3 separate regions of the Homo sapiens genome follow, and all the other regions are linked to region 2. The links are contacts of gene promoters, found by promoter capture Hi-C in human tissues and cell types (Jung and others, 2019). All regions are on one chromosome and are shown on one strand. The core of a region is centred on a gene start or on the middle of the fragment in contact, and the rest is flanking DNA. Distances in the headings are between cores, read along the strand shown.

The links. The method cuts DNA at HindIII sites, captures the fragments that hold promoters and counts their contacts. A contact is called where the count stands out against the background at its distance.
Region 1: the fragment with the promoter of ZNF443 here is called in contact with the fragment with the promoter of ZNF439 in region 2 in 2 of the 25 tissues and cell types used here (mesenchymal stem cells and mesendoderm cells).
Region 3: the fragment with the promoter of ZNF799 here is called in contact with the fragment with the promoter of ZNF439 in region 2 in 3 of the 25 tissues and cell types used here (bladder, mesenchymal stem cells and thymus).

Annotation. Positions count from the first base shown.
Region 1 is chr19:12,438,731-12,443,258 of GRCh38, forward strand. It overlaps ZNF443 (zinc finger protein 443), which reads right to left and starts at 2,291. Exons shown (of 4, transcript NM_005815.5): 1 at 2,182-2,291. The coding sequence starts at 2,184. RefSeq lists a silencer at 1,970-2,059 and an enhancer at 2,470-2,739. The HindIII fragment of the contact is 16,773 bases long and covers 1-4,528 here.
Region 2 is chr19:11,847,453-11,851,941 of GRCh38, forward strand. It overlaps ZNF439 (zinc finger protein 439), which reads left to right and starts at 1,274. Exons shown (of 4, transcript NM_001348719.2): 1 at 1,274-1,478. The coding sequence starts at 1,416. The HindIII fragment of the contact is 2,018 bases long and covers 944-2,961 here.
Region 3 is chr19:12,399,958-12,404,010 of GRCh38, forward strand. It overlaps ZNF799 (zinc finger protein 799), which reads right to left and starts at 1,314. Exons shown (of 4, transcript NM_001080821.3): 1 at 1,111-1,314. The coding sequence starts at 1,113. RefSeq lists enhancers at 609-698, 1,419-1,468 and a silencer at 929-1,088. The HindIII fragment of the contact is 18,323 bases long and covers 1-4,053 here.

The DNA.
Region 1 (4,528 bases), core at 1,041-3,540, 590 kb after region 2:
AAAAATAAATAAAGGCTTTTAAAAAATGGAATAGAAGATTACATATACCATTTATATTCTGAAGTCCAACTCTTTCTAGTATTACTTATAAAATTTATTTTCTGAAGTCCGACTCTTTCCAACTTTGGGTATACTTTGTCTTCAAAGTATAAAATAACAATCTCTAATCATAGGATGTATTTCACGGTTAATCAAAAATTTAGGCTGAAAAGAGTAAACATATCTTTTCAAGCTAACAAACTCAGGAATCAGCAGTGCTGACTGGAACACAGAAAAGTCTAATGCAACAATCAGTGCAGGTCATCCTATCACCTGGGACATCCCTTAACCCTATTCTGTTCGCCACCCTCCTAGGAGACACTCACCACCCTCCTAGGAGACACTGCCTTGTGTGCTTTTCAGGATCTTGCACTACCTCAAAGGGCAGGTTCTCCAGTCCTTAGATATAACTTTCTACCTTTTAAGTCTGAGAGAGTCCAGAAGGCAAAAATCATTTCCGTTTTTTTTCCTATGGAATATGACCATGAAATTGGCTGTTCAGTCATGTGTCTCCAAGGAATGGAAACTAGGGTTGGGAAGAAAAGGTGAGTGTCCCAGGAGTTAGCTTTTTACAGGAATTATATACCAGAAGATTCCTCCCATCCCAGTGGATCCAGTTGCTCCCCAGGGGGCCACACCTTCCATCTCAGGCTGTCCCCTGGGAGGAGTGACCCAGGGGATGATATTCACTAGACCCTCCAAGAGACTTGGCAGCTGTGGACATCCATTTTTTTTGAGACAGGGTCGGCCTCTGTTGCCTAGGCTGGGATGCAGAGGCACGATCATAGCTCACTGCAACTTCAAACTCCTGGGCTCCAGCCATCATCCCACCTCAGCCTCAGGAGTAGCTGCGACTACAGGTGCCAGCTACCAAGCCCAGCTAATTTTATTATTATCATTTACACTAGAGACAAAGTCTTGCCATGTTGCCCAGGCTGGTCTGGAACTACTGGGATCAAGCAATACCTCTGCCTTAGCCTCCCAAGGTGCTGGAATTACAGGAATGACCCACCGTGTTCAGGAACCCAAAACAATTCTTTCAAGAAAAAGCCATACATTGCTAGCTGAAAACAAGATGACAAACTAGTGAAATATCGCCTGGGGCCAAACAGTTCATACTGTTGCTGTGAATTAAGGACAGAAGGTTAGCCTGGGGAAGTCTCTGGAAACCAAGAGATTTGCTGCCAGCCCTAGGAAGAGTCAGGATGAGAGAACACAGTGGTGGATTTGAGACCCTGCTGCCCACGTCTTTGGAAGACTCAGAGGGGAAACGGTCGCCCTTGGAAAGGAAGAAAGGACTGAGGACCACGGAAACCACAGCTCCTCCCACACACAAACCCCACACACGAGTCTGGATTCCACCTGGTGACTCGTCGTCACCGTGCAGCCTCCTCACCGGGTTCACAGGAACTGCGAGCCAGGCTGGAGGCGAGATTGCAGTTAGATATTAAACAGGTGCCCTCAGCCCCGCTGCCTCAAGGGGCCGCCTCCCTGAGAGTCAGGTCACAGCAGACGCTGACCGCCGGCTTCCCCATTGTGCCTGGGGATAAGATCTCCGAGTGCTGCTCAAGAGTCGCCGGAGTTCTCAGATCCTGAATCCCAGCAGAAAGGCTGGCGCCAACCAGGTTGAAGACCCCACGAGGGAGCCCTCTCAGCAGAATGCGGTTTCTTCACCTCCTGTCCCAGGATTCACCCCTCACTTCCCCACCAACCAAGGACGCTACACCCAGCCGCCCCCGTCCAGACCCCAAATCCCTCAGGGAGGCGGATCTGGGGTGTCCTCCCCTCTCCTCCTGTTAAACCGTTTCTGCTGCAGCCCTCGGCGTCTCGGTGCAGTGAGTCGGGCCGCGAACCTGTGTTGGTTACAGCCGCACAATCTGGGGAGACCCGGGGCTGCGGGCTCGGAGCTGCCCAGAGAGGGCGCCGGGGCCGCAGTCGCCGCGCAGGAACGGGACAGGACGCCCGGGGTCCCGGCTGCATGCCCAGCCCCACCCTGCGGCCGAGGGCCGACCTACGCCAGGGGGACCCGGGTCCGTAGATCCCGAAGTCGCCCTTGGGGAGGCCCGGGTCCAGCCACAGCCGATTACGGCCGGTTCCACCTAACCCCTCCCCCGCCTCGGGACGCCGGCCCAGCACACGCACCATTTCCCGACTTCCGCGGTGTCCCAGGTCCTACCGACAGCTCCCGCTGCCAATGCGTGTTCCAGCCAGACAAAGGCTGCCTCAGAACTTCCAGGTCGTCTCTCAGCTACAGAACCCAGAGCCGAGCGCAGGTGGGTGGAGCAGACGCCGCGGGCTTTTTCAACCACACACACTTCTCTGGGCAGTGCCTGATTGACAGTTCCCACGAACCCGCCCCACGCCCCTGATTGGATAGGGCGTCAGGTCCCGCCCCCTGAGGGCTGATTGACAGAAGAAGCGATCTTGCACAGCTGAGTGGAGCCGGATGAGCAAGTTCCTGACACAGCCCTTGGCAGGGGGGGCTTCCTCCCTGCTCTTTGATCTGAATCCTCCCGGGTTATATTTGCACTTAAGCGGAATTTCCTGCCCGTACTCAATAGGACCTCCTGCTTCTTCCTCCTGGACACGGACTGACAAACTAATTATATCTTTTTTTTTTTTTTTCCTCGAGAGGGAGTCTTGCTCTGTCGCCCAGGCTAGAGTGCAATGGTGCGAGGCTCACTGCAACCTTCGCCTCCTGGGTGGGTTCAAGCAATTCTCCTGCCTCAGCCTCCCGAGTAGCTAGGATTACAGGCACGCGCCACCACCCGGCTAATTTTTGTATTTTTCAGTAGAGGCTGGGTTTCACCATGTTGGCCAGGCTGGTCTCAAACTCGTGACCTCGTGATCCGCCTACCTTGGCCTCCCAAAGTTCTGGGATTAGAGGCGTGAGCAACTGCGCCTGGCTCCAATTATGCTCTTTTTCAATGAAATTTTTCAAGATTTTTCAATGTACAATTAAATTATTTTTTACTATAGTCACTCTGTTGTGCTAGCAAATACTAGGTCTTATTCATTCTTTGTAACTATTTTTTATACCTATTAACCATCCCCACTTCCCCCATAACTACTCCTCGCTACTACTTTTCGCAGCCTCTGGTAACCATCCTTCTACACATTTTTGGTTGTTTGAGATGGGGTCTTGCTCTGTTACCTAGGCTGGAGTGCAGTGGGGCCATCATGGCTCACTGCAACCTCTACCTCCTAAGCTCAAGCAATCCTCCCACCTCAGCCTCTCAAGTAGCTTCAGATTGTTCACTGTTGGCATATAAAAATGTTATTGATTTTTGTGTGTTGATATTGTATACTGCAACTTTACTGAATTTATTTCTCAGTTCTAATACTTTTTTGGTGGAGTCTTTAGGTATTTCCAGATATAAGATCATATTATATGCAAACAAGGATAATTTGACTTCTTCCTTCCCAATATGGATGCCCTTTATTTCTTTTTTTTTCTTTTTTTTTTTTTTGTCTTATTGCTCTAGCTGGGACTTCAAGTACTGTGTTGAACAACAGTGGTAAAAGTGGGCATTCTTATTGTGTTCCAGATCTTACAGGAAGGGCTTTCAGTTTTTCCCCATTCATTATCATGCTAGCTGTGGGTCTGCCATATATAGCTTTTATTATGTTAAGGTATGCTCCTTCTTTACCCACTTTTTTTTAGGGTTTTTATCATGAAGGGATGTTAAATATTATCAAAAGCTTTTTCAGTGCACATTGAAATGATTATATGGTGTTTGCCCTTTATTCTGTTGAAATGATACATCACATTGATTGATTTGCATATATTGAACCATCCTTGCATCCCAGGGATAAAGCCCACTTGGTCATGATGAATGATCTTTTTGGTGTATTGTTAAATTCAGTTTGCTAGTATTGAGTTGAGGATTTTTGCATCAATATTCATCAGTGACACTGGCCTATAGTTTTCTTTTTCTGACATGTCTTTGTCTGGTTTTGGTGTCAAAGTAATATTGGCTTTGTAAAATAAATTTGGAAGTATTGCCTTCTCCTCTGTTTTTTGGAATAGTTTGAGTAAGATTGGTATTAGTTCTTTTTTAAATGTTGGTAGAATTCAGCAGTGGAGCCACTGGGTTCTGGGGTTTTCTTTGCTAGGAGACTTTTTATTATGGCTTTGATCTCATTATTTGTTATTGGTCTGTTCAGGTTTTTTATTTCTTCATGGTTCAATGTTGCTATGTTCTATCTGCCTAGGAATTTATCAGTTTCTTCTAGGTTTTCCAGTTTATTGGCATATAGTTGTTCTTAGTTGCATTAATGATCCTTTGAATTTCTGCAGTATCAACTGTAATGTCTCCTTTTTCACCTCTAATTGTATTTATTTGGGCCTGGTTTTTTCTTAGTCTACCTCAAGGTTTGTCAATTTTGTTTGTCTTTTCAAAAAACCAACTTTTTGTTTCATTGTTCTTTTCTATTGTTTCTTCATTTCAAATTCATTTATTTCTACTGATTTTTATTATTTCTTTTC
Region 2 (4,489 bases), core at 24-2,523:
CCTAGAGCCGCGCTGCTGCAGAGCCCAGTTCCCAGGGCTGCTCCCTCCACGTATCCACATCCATCTCCAGCTTTCCACCCTTTCTCTGACCAGACAGGCCTGGAGGTGCTGCAGTGTCAGTGACCGTGGGTCCCTCCGCTGCCACCTCCACCGCGATCTGGAAGTCTTTTAAATGTACTTAAGTTATCTTAGAATTTTCCTTCCCCACTTTATACATAAACATAGGAGGAGAGCAGGGACTCTGCTGGTGTCTTATTCACACAATGGGATTGAGGGTGTTTGTGTCATGGAACTGATCAATGGGGTGAGAAGTAGCTGAATAACCTGCAGGGGCAGCAGAGCCCGAGGCCAGTGACTCCACGCTGAGGCCAGTCTGGAGCCTGCAAAGGAAGGGAAAGGAGCTTTTCCTGGGGGCTTCCTGGGCAGCCCGCCCTCCCCTACAGGTGGCCTCCAGCTGCTCAGAGCAGCTCCAGAAGGAGTGTGGATTCCGAGAAGCTGTAGGGCCCTGGAAAGCAGAAGACCTTCGTGCAGACGCATTTGTGGGGTTCTGTCCTTTCTGGTGTTGTACCTCTGGAGCCTGGGGCTGTCTTCTGGGCAGGGTTTGGGGTTTGACATACATGGGGTCGCTGGAGTCAGAGTTATTTGTATATATAAAGAAAATGTGTGAAAATCAGGCTAGAGACACAATTGTTTGGTGGCGTCACCTGGATAAAAGGTTTATGAGGTTGACAGTTTATTTAGGTCCGAAGCTTAACCCCAGGTGAGAGTTTCCTGCAGGTGAAAATGAAGATCTGGAAGGACGGAGCATTTTCATACTGTGAGGAGGGGATGGGGGTGTGTGAGCAAGTCTTGGCCATGCCTCATCCCCAATTCCGGCCCGCTCGAGGAAATATGCCTCTCCTCCTGGTGCAGTCTTGCCTGGCCTGGTCTCGGTTCCCCTGCTGCTCTGAGGCAGGAGATGGCTCCTGTGGACACTGAGTCTGAAATTCCCTGCACACTCCTGTGACCCCGTGCAGAACGAAGGAGCGGGGACAGTCCTTTGAGTGAGGAAGACGCTAGTGTTCTCTTCTAACAATAGCAAGTTTGGCTGAAATGCAACTATCCAATAACCCGAGTGCAGGAAGCAGCTCGTGTAAGCTTAGAGAAGCTGTTGCTAGAATCTGTCAGTCTGGCTCCGCAGGGCCTGATACCCAGGGCTTCCGCTGTCACTTAGACGTGGGGGGCGGGGCCGAACATTCCATCCAATCAGAGGCACTGGCTCGGGGCCCTGCCCACTGTGCATCCAGGCACGGAGGATGTTGCATTCCTGCCGTCACCTTTGTCGCTGCGAGGGCGGCGGTTGGGATCTGGCCTTTCCAGCCCCGAGAGGGACCTAGTGCCTCTACCCAGATTTCTGTCGCTCTGTCACCTGCGCTATGCCCTGCTTTACTCACAGGAGCTGTAGAGAGGACCCCGGTACATCTGAAAGCCGGGAAATGGTGCGTGTGCTGGCCGGGAGTGGTGCGATGGGGGAGGGGCTGCCTGGAACTGGCGGGACCCGGGCCTCCCTGTGGGCGACTCCGGGGTCTGGGACCGAGTCCTCCTAGAGCTGCTCGGCCCTCGGTCCCCGCGGCCGCTGGATGTGGGTGGGCCGGCAGCCGGGACTCCGGGCGTCCTGTCCCGTCCCTGCCCGTCGACTGCGGCCTTGGCCCCGAAGCCCTTTTGTGCAGCTCCGCGCCCGCAGCCCGACGCCCCAGCTTGTGCGGGGGCCACGGGAGGGTCATGCGCGGATTTCGACTCGGGTGTGGATTTCGTCCGTAGGAGGAGCAGCGGTCTGTGGGGCCCACAGCCTCCACTTTCTCCTGTTAAAAATTATACTGAGGTACGTTAACAAAAAGTTCATTTGAGGAAACAGCCATTCACGAATGAGAAACACCCGGTCCTGGCTTGTGGTTTGTCAACGGAAAAAAAACAGACTATGTAAAATACAGAAGTGTATTCAGAGCCGAGTAGGAGAGACCTTGGCCGAGGGAAACACAACCCCAAGCAGCCTGGAGTAAGTGGTCCGGAGGCGGCTCAGGACAGTTTGGTTTTATTCATTTCAGAGAGACAGGAATTGCAGGGAAAATGATGGATCAAGGCTGGAAGGTGTAAATTCCATTGGCAGAAAGGGTGGGACCTGTGGAAGGGGGGTTAGGAGGCACAGGTGGTTGAGGGATTCTGTAGGTGGCAGCTGGTTGAGAGTGTGAAGCTTTGTCTAAAGTTTGGAGGAGGTAGGAAGGAATGCTGAAGGAAGGGGGTCTGTTATCTGCCACTTCATTCCATCCCAGCCAAAAAACAGTCCTGTTTCTCTAGATTTTATGAATTCTAAGACGTAACTTTACCTTTGCCTTGCGTGGCCTTAGGTCTTGTTTGTAATTTGGTATCTTGTTGCCACAAGGAGTCTGTTTTTCCAGTCAGAGAATGTCTGTTTTTACATGAATGTGCGTCAGTTGCTGCATGTAAACTCCTAAAGGGAGAGGGTATAAGGAGACCTGTCTCACCTCCCATCCTGTCATACAGAGGCACTCAATTTTCAGGGTGTTTTGGGGGTTCCCTTGGCCAAGAGCCAGTCACTTCACTTAGCTGGGAAGGTACTTTGTTTGTTTTTGTTTTTGTTTGAGACGGAGTCTCCTTCTGTCGCCCAGGCTGGTGTGCAATGGCTCGATCTCGGCTCACTGCAACCTCTGCCTTCTGGGTTCAAGGGATTCTCCTGCCTCAGCCTCCTGAGTAGCTGGGATTACAGGCACGCACCACCACCCCCAGCTAATTGTTGTATTTTTAGTAGAGATGGGGTTTCACCATGTTGGCCAGGCTGTTCTCAAACTCCTGACCTCAAGTGATCCACCCCCCTCGGCCTCCCAAAGTGCTGGGATTACAGATGTGAGCCACATCGCCATGCCAGAAGATATGTTTTTATTTTTGTTTTACATGTTTAAGGCTAGGCTTTTATAAGGTACATGAGGAGACAAACCAGATAAATGCTTGATTGGTTGCAGAGATGCAGTCGCCTTATTTGGACTTGTCAACCGGAAATAATCAAAAGGTTCAGATTTCAGTTGGAAGAGTTTATTCAAGCAGAAAGATAGCAATGACCAAAACACAGACTCCAGAAAAATGGACTCAGTACTCCAAAATTGGAAGTTATGTTCTTGCTTATATTACTGAAAAAAGAGGTCCTGATCAGACCCCAAGAGAGTTCTTGGATCTCACACAGGAAGGAATTCAAGACGAGTCACAAAGTGCAGTGCGAAGAGAGTTTATTGAAAGCTACTCTGGGCCAGCATGATGGCTTAGGCCTGTAATCCAAGCACTTTGGGAGGCCCAGGCGAGAGGATCACTTGAGCTCAGGAGTTCGAGACCAGCCTGGGCAACTTAGCGAAACCCCGTCTCTTCCAAAAATAAGAAAAATTAGCCGGATGTGGTGGCCTGTGCCTGTAGTCTCAGTTACTCAGGAGGCTGAGGTGGGACAATCACTTGAACCTGGGAGGCAGAGGTTGCAGCCCAGCCGAGGATGCGCCACTGCACTCCAGCCTGGGTAACAGAGTGAGACCCCATCTCAAAAAACAAAAACAAAACAAACAAACAAAAAAGAGTTGAAGACCAACCTGGCCAACACAGCGAGACCCTGTCTCTATTTAAAAAAATAAAAAAGAAGAAGAAGAAGAAAGAAAGCTTCTCTGTTACAGAGTAGGGCATCCTCATACAGCAAGAGGAGGAATGTACTGTCTTAAGTTTTTCTTATGTAGGGATCTTGTCTATGTAAAGAATAAACTAAGCTGTGCCTACCTGCATGTGGGCTGACAGCATCACAAAATTTATTACTCTGTTGATTTAAAGAAAACTATCCTTTACATTTTAGTGCACAAGTGCATTAAAGCATAACTATAATTACCTTGAAAGCACATATTATGGGTATTGGGGTATTGGGACATCGGGACATTCTGTCGTTGTGGGAGTGTAAGGATACTTGCAGGCATCTTCAGGCTGTTTTCTTCATGGGAAACATTTTATGACTATGGGTTGTGACTGGCAAGGAGTGTTTCTTGTTAGTCTCAAGATGGAGCTGGTTGGTCTTTCTCTGGCTCCCCTAGGCACCTGCTTCCCTAACACTTATATAGGGAAACGGCAAATAAATATAATAGGATTACATTTTCCATAGAAGGCTGATGTATGAGGTACAATAATTTAATTTTTTTTTTTTTTTGAGGCAATGTCTTGCTCTGTGGCCCAGGCTGGAGCAGTGGTGCCATCACGGCTTACTGCAGCCTTGACTTCCCCATCTTGAGCACCTCCGCCTCCCAAGTAGCTGAGACTATAGTCGCCCACTACCACACCTGGGTAATTTTTAATTTTTTATGGAGGTGGGGTCTCGATACATTGCCCAGGCTTGTCTCTAGCTCCTGGCCTCAAACAGTCCTCCTTCTTTGGCCTCCACAAGTCTTGGGATTGCAGGCGTTAGCCAGTGCAC
Region 3 (4,053 bases), core at 64-2,563, 550 kb after region 2:
TAATTCTTTCAAGAAAAAGCCATACATTGCTAGCTGAAAACAAGATGACAAACTAGTGAAATATCGCCTGGGGGCCAAACAGTTCATACCGTTGCTGTGAATTAAGGACAGAAGGTTAGCCTGGGGAAGTCTCTGGAAACCAAGAGATTTGCTGCCAGCCCTAGGAGGAGTCAGGATGAGAGAACACAGTGGTGGATTTGAGACCCTGCTAACCACATCTTTGGAAGACTCAGAGGGGAAACGGTCGCCCTTGGAAAGAAAGAAGGGACTGAGGACCACGGAGACCACAGCTCCTCCCACACACAAACCCCACACACGAGTCTGGATTCCACCTGGTGACTCGTCGTCACCGTGCAGCCTCCTCACCGGGTTCACAGGAACTGCGAGCCAGGCTGGAGGCGAGATTGCAGTTAGATATTAACCAGGTGCCCTCAGCCCCGCTGCCTCAAGGGGCCGCCTCCCTGAGAGTCAGGTCACAGCAGACGCTGACCGCCGGCTTCCCCATTGTGCCTGGGGATAAGATCTCTGAGAACTGCTCAAGAGTCGCCGGAGTTCTCAGATCCTGAATCCCAGCAAAGGCTGGCGCCAATCAGGTTGAAGTCCCAACGAGGGAGCCCATTCAGCAGAATGCGGTTTCTTCACCTCCTGTCCCAGGATTCACCCCTCACTTCCCCACCAACCAACGACCCTACACCCAGCCGCCCCCGTCCAGACCCCAAATCCCTCAGGGAGGCGGATCTGGGGTGTCCTCCCCTCTCTGGCTATTAAACTGTTTCTGCTGCAGCCCTCAGCGTCTCGGTGCAGTGAGTCGGGCCGCGAACCTGTGTTGCTTACAGCCGCACAATCTCGGGAGACGCGAGGCTGCGGGCGCGGAGCTGCCCAGAGAGGGCGCCGGGGCCGCAGTCGCCGCGCAGGAACGGGACAGGACGCCCGGGGTCCCGGCTGCATGCCCAGCCCCACCCTGCGGCCGAGGGCCGACCTACGCCAGGGGAACCCGGGTCCGTAGATCCCGGAGTAGCCCTTGGGGAGGCCCGGGTCCAGCCACAGCCGATTACTGCAGGTTCCACCCAGCCCCTCCCCCGCCTCGGGACGCCGGCCCAGCACACGCACCATTTCCCGACTTCCGCGGTGTCCCAGGTCCTCCGGACGGCTCCCGCTGCCAATGCGGGTTCCCGCGGGACACAGGCTGCCACGGAACTTCCAGGTCGTCTCTTAGCTACAGAGCCGAGCACCGAGCGCCCAGCGCAGGTGGGTGGAGAAGACGCCGCGGGCTTTTTCAACCACACACTCCTCTGGGAAGCGCGCCTGATTGACAGTTCCCACGAACCCGCCCCACGGCCCTTACTGGATACGGCGTCAGGTGCCGCCCCTCGTGGACTGATTGACAGAAGAAGCGATCTTGCACAGCTGAGTGGAGCCAGATGAGCAAGTTCCTGACACAGCCCTTGGCAGGGCGGGCTTCCTCCCTGCTCTTTGATCTGAATCCTCCCGAGGGATATTTGCACTTAAGCGGAATTTCCTGCCTGTACTCAATAGGACCTCCTGCTTCTTCCTCCTGTACACTGACTGACAAAACAATTATACTTTTTTTTTTTTTTTTTTTTTTTTTTCCGAGAGAGAGAGAGAGAGAGAGAGAGAGAGAGGGAGTCTTGCTCCGTGGCTCAGGCTAGAGTGCAATGGTGCGAGGCTCACTGCGACCTCCGCCTCCTAGGTGGGTTCAAACAATTCTGCCTCAGCCTCCCGAGTAGCTGGGATTACAGGTGCGCGCCACCACACCCGGCTAATTTTTGTATGTTTTAGTAGAGGCCGGGTTTCACCATGTTGGCCAGGCTGGTCTCGAACTCCTGACCTCGTGATCCGCCCACCTTGGCCTCCCAAAGTTCTGGGATTAGAGACGTGAGCCATCGCGCCTGGCTCCAATTATACTCTTTTTCAATGAAATTTTTCAAAATATTTCAATGTACAATTAAATTATTTTTTACTATAGTCACTCTGTTGTGCTAGCAAATACTAGGTCTTATTCATTCTTTGTAACTATTTTTTATACCTATTAACCATCCCCACTTCCCCCATAACTACTCCTCGCTACTACTTTTCCCAGCCTGTGGTAACCATCCTTCTACACGTTTTTGGTTGTTTGAGATGGGGTCTTGCTCTGTTGCCTAGGCTGGAGTGCAGTGGGGCCATCATGGCTCACTGCAACCTCTACCTCCCAAGCTCAAGCAATCCTCCCACCTCAGCCTCTCAAGTAGCTTCAGATTGTTCACTGTTGGCATATAAAAATGTTACTGATTTTTGTATGTTAATATTGTATCCTGCAACTTTACTGAATTTATTTCTCAGTTCTAATACTTTTTTGGTGGAGTCTTTAGGTATTTCCAGATATAAGATCATATTATATGCAAACCAGGATAATTTGACTTCTTCCTTTCCTTCCCAATATAGATGCCCTTTATTTCTTTTTTTTTTTTTTTTTGGACTTATTGCTCTAGCTGGGACTTCGAGTACTGTGCTGAACAACAGTGGTAAAAGTGGGCATTCTTATTGTGTTCCAGATCTTACAGGAAAGGCTTTCAGTTTTTCCTCATTCATTATCATGCTAGCTGTGGGTCTGCCATATATGGCTTTTATTATGTTAAGGTAGCTGCTTCTATACCCAGTTTTTTTTTAGGGTTTTTATCATGAAGGGATGTTAAATATTATCAAAAGCTTTTTCAGTGCACATTGAAATGATTATATGGTGTTTGCCCTTTATTCTGTTGAAATGATACATCACATTGATTGATTTGCATATATTGAACCATCCTTGCATCCCAGGGATAAAGCCCACTTGGTCATGATGAATGATCTTTTTGGTGTATTGTTAAATTCAGTTTGCTAGTATTGAGTTGAGGATTTTTGCATCAATATTCATCAGTGACACTGGCCTATAGTTTTCTTTTTCTGACATGTCTTTGTCTGGTTTTGGTGTCAAAGTAATATTGGCTTTGTAAAATAAGTTTGGAAGTATTGCCTTCTCCTCTGTTTTGGAATAGTTTGAGTAGGATTGGTATTAGTTCTTTTTTAAATGTTAGTAGAATTCAGCAGTGAAGCCACTGGGTTCTGGGGTTTTCTTTGCTAGCAGACTTTTTATTATGGCTTTGATCTCATTATTTGTTATTGGTCTGTTCAGGTTTTTTATTTCTTCATGGTTCAATGTTGCTATGTTCTATCTGCCTAGGAATTTATCAATTTCTTCTAGGTTTTCCAATTTATTGGCATATAGTTGTTCTTAGTTGCATTAATGATCCTTTGAATTTCTGCAGTATCAACTGTAATGTCTCCTTTTTCATCTCTAATTTTATTTATTTGGGCCTTTCTGTTTTTTTCTTAGTCTACCTCAAGGTTTGTCAGTTTTGTTTGTCTTTTCAAAAAACCAACTTTTTGTTTCATTGTTCTTTTCTATTGTTTCTTCATTTCAAATTCATTTATTTCTACTCTGATTTTTATTATTTCTTTTCTACTAATTTTGGGTTTGGTTTGCTCTTGCTTTTCTAATTCTTTAAAATGCATTCTTAGGTTGTTTATTTGAAGGTTTTCTTCTTCTTCTTCTTCTTCTTTTTTTTTTTGATGTGAGTTTTACTTCACTCTTGCAGCCTAGGCTGGAGTGCAATGGCGCAATCTCAGCTCACTGCCACCTCTGCCTCCTGGGTTCAAGCAATTCTCCTGCCTCAGCCTCCCAGGTAGCTGAGATTACAGGCACCCACCACCATGTCTGGTTAATTTTTTGTATTTTTAGTAGACAGGGTTCCACCATGTTGGCCAGGCTGGTCTTGAACTCCTAAGCTCAGGTGATCCACTCACCTCGGCCTCCCAAAGTGCTGGGATTACAGGTGGGAGCCACCGCACCCAGCCTGCAGGTCTTCTTCTTTTTTGATGTAGGTGCTTATATCTATAAACTTCCCTCTTAGTACTGCTTTTGCTGTATTCCATAGGTTTTGGTATGTTGCATTTTCATTATCATTTGTTTCAAGCAACTTTACAATTTCCTTCTTAATTTCTCCACTGACCAAT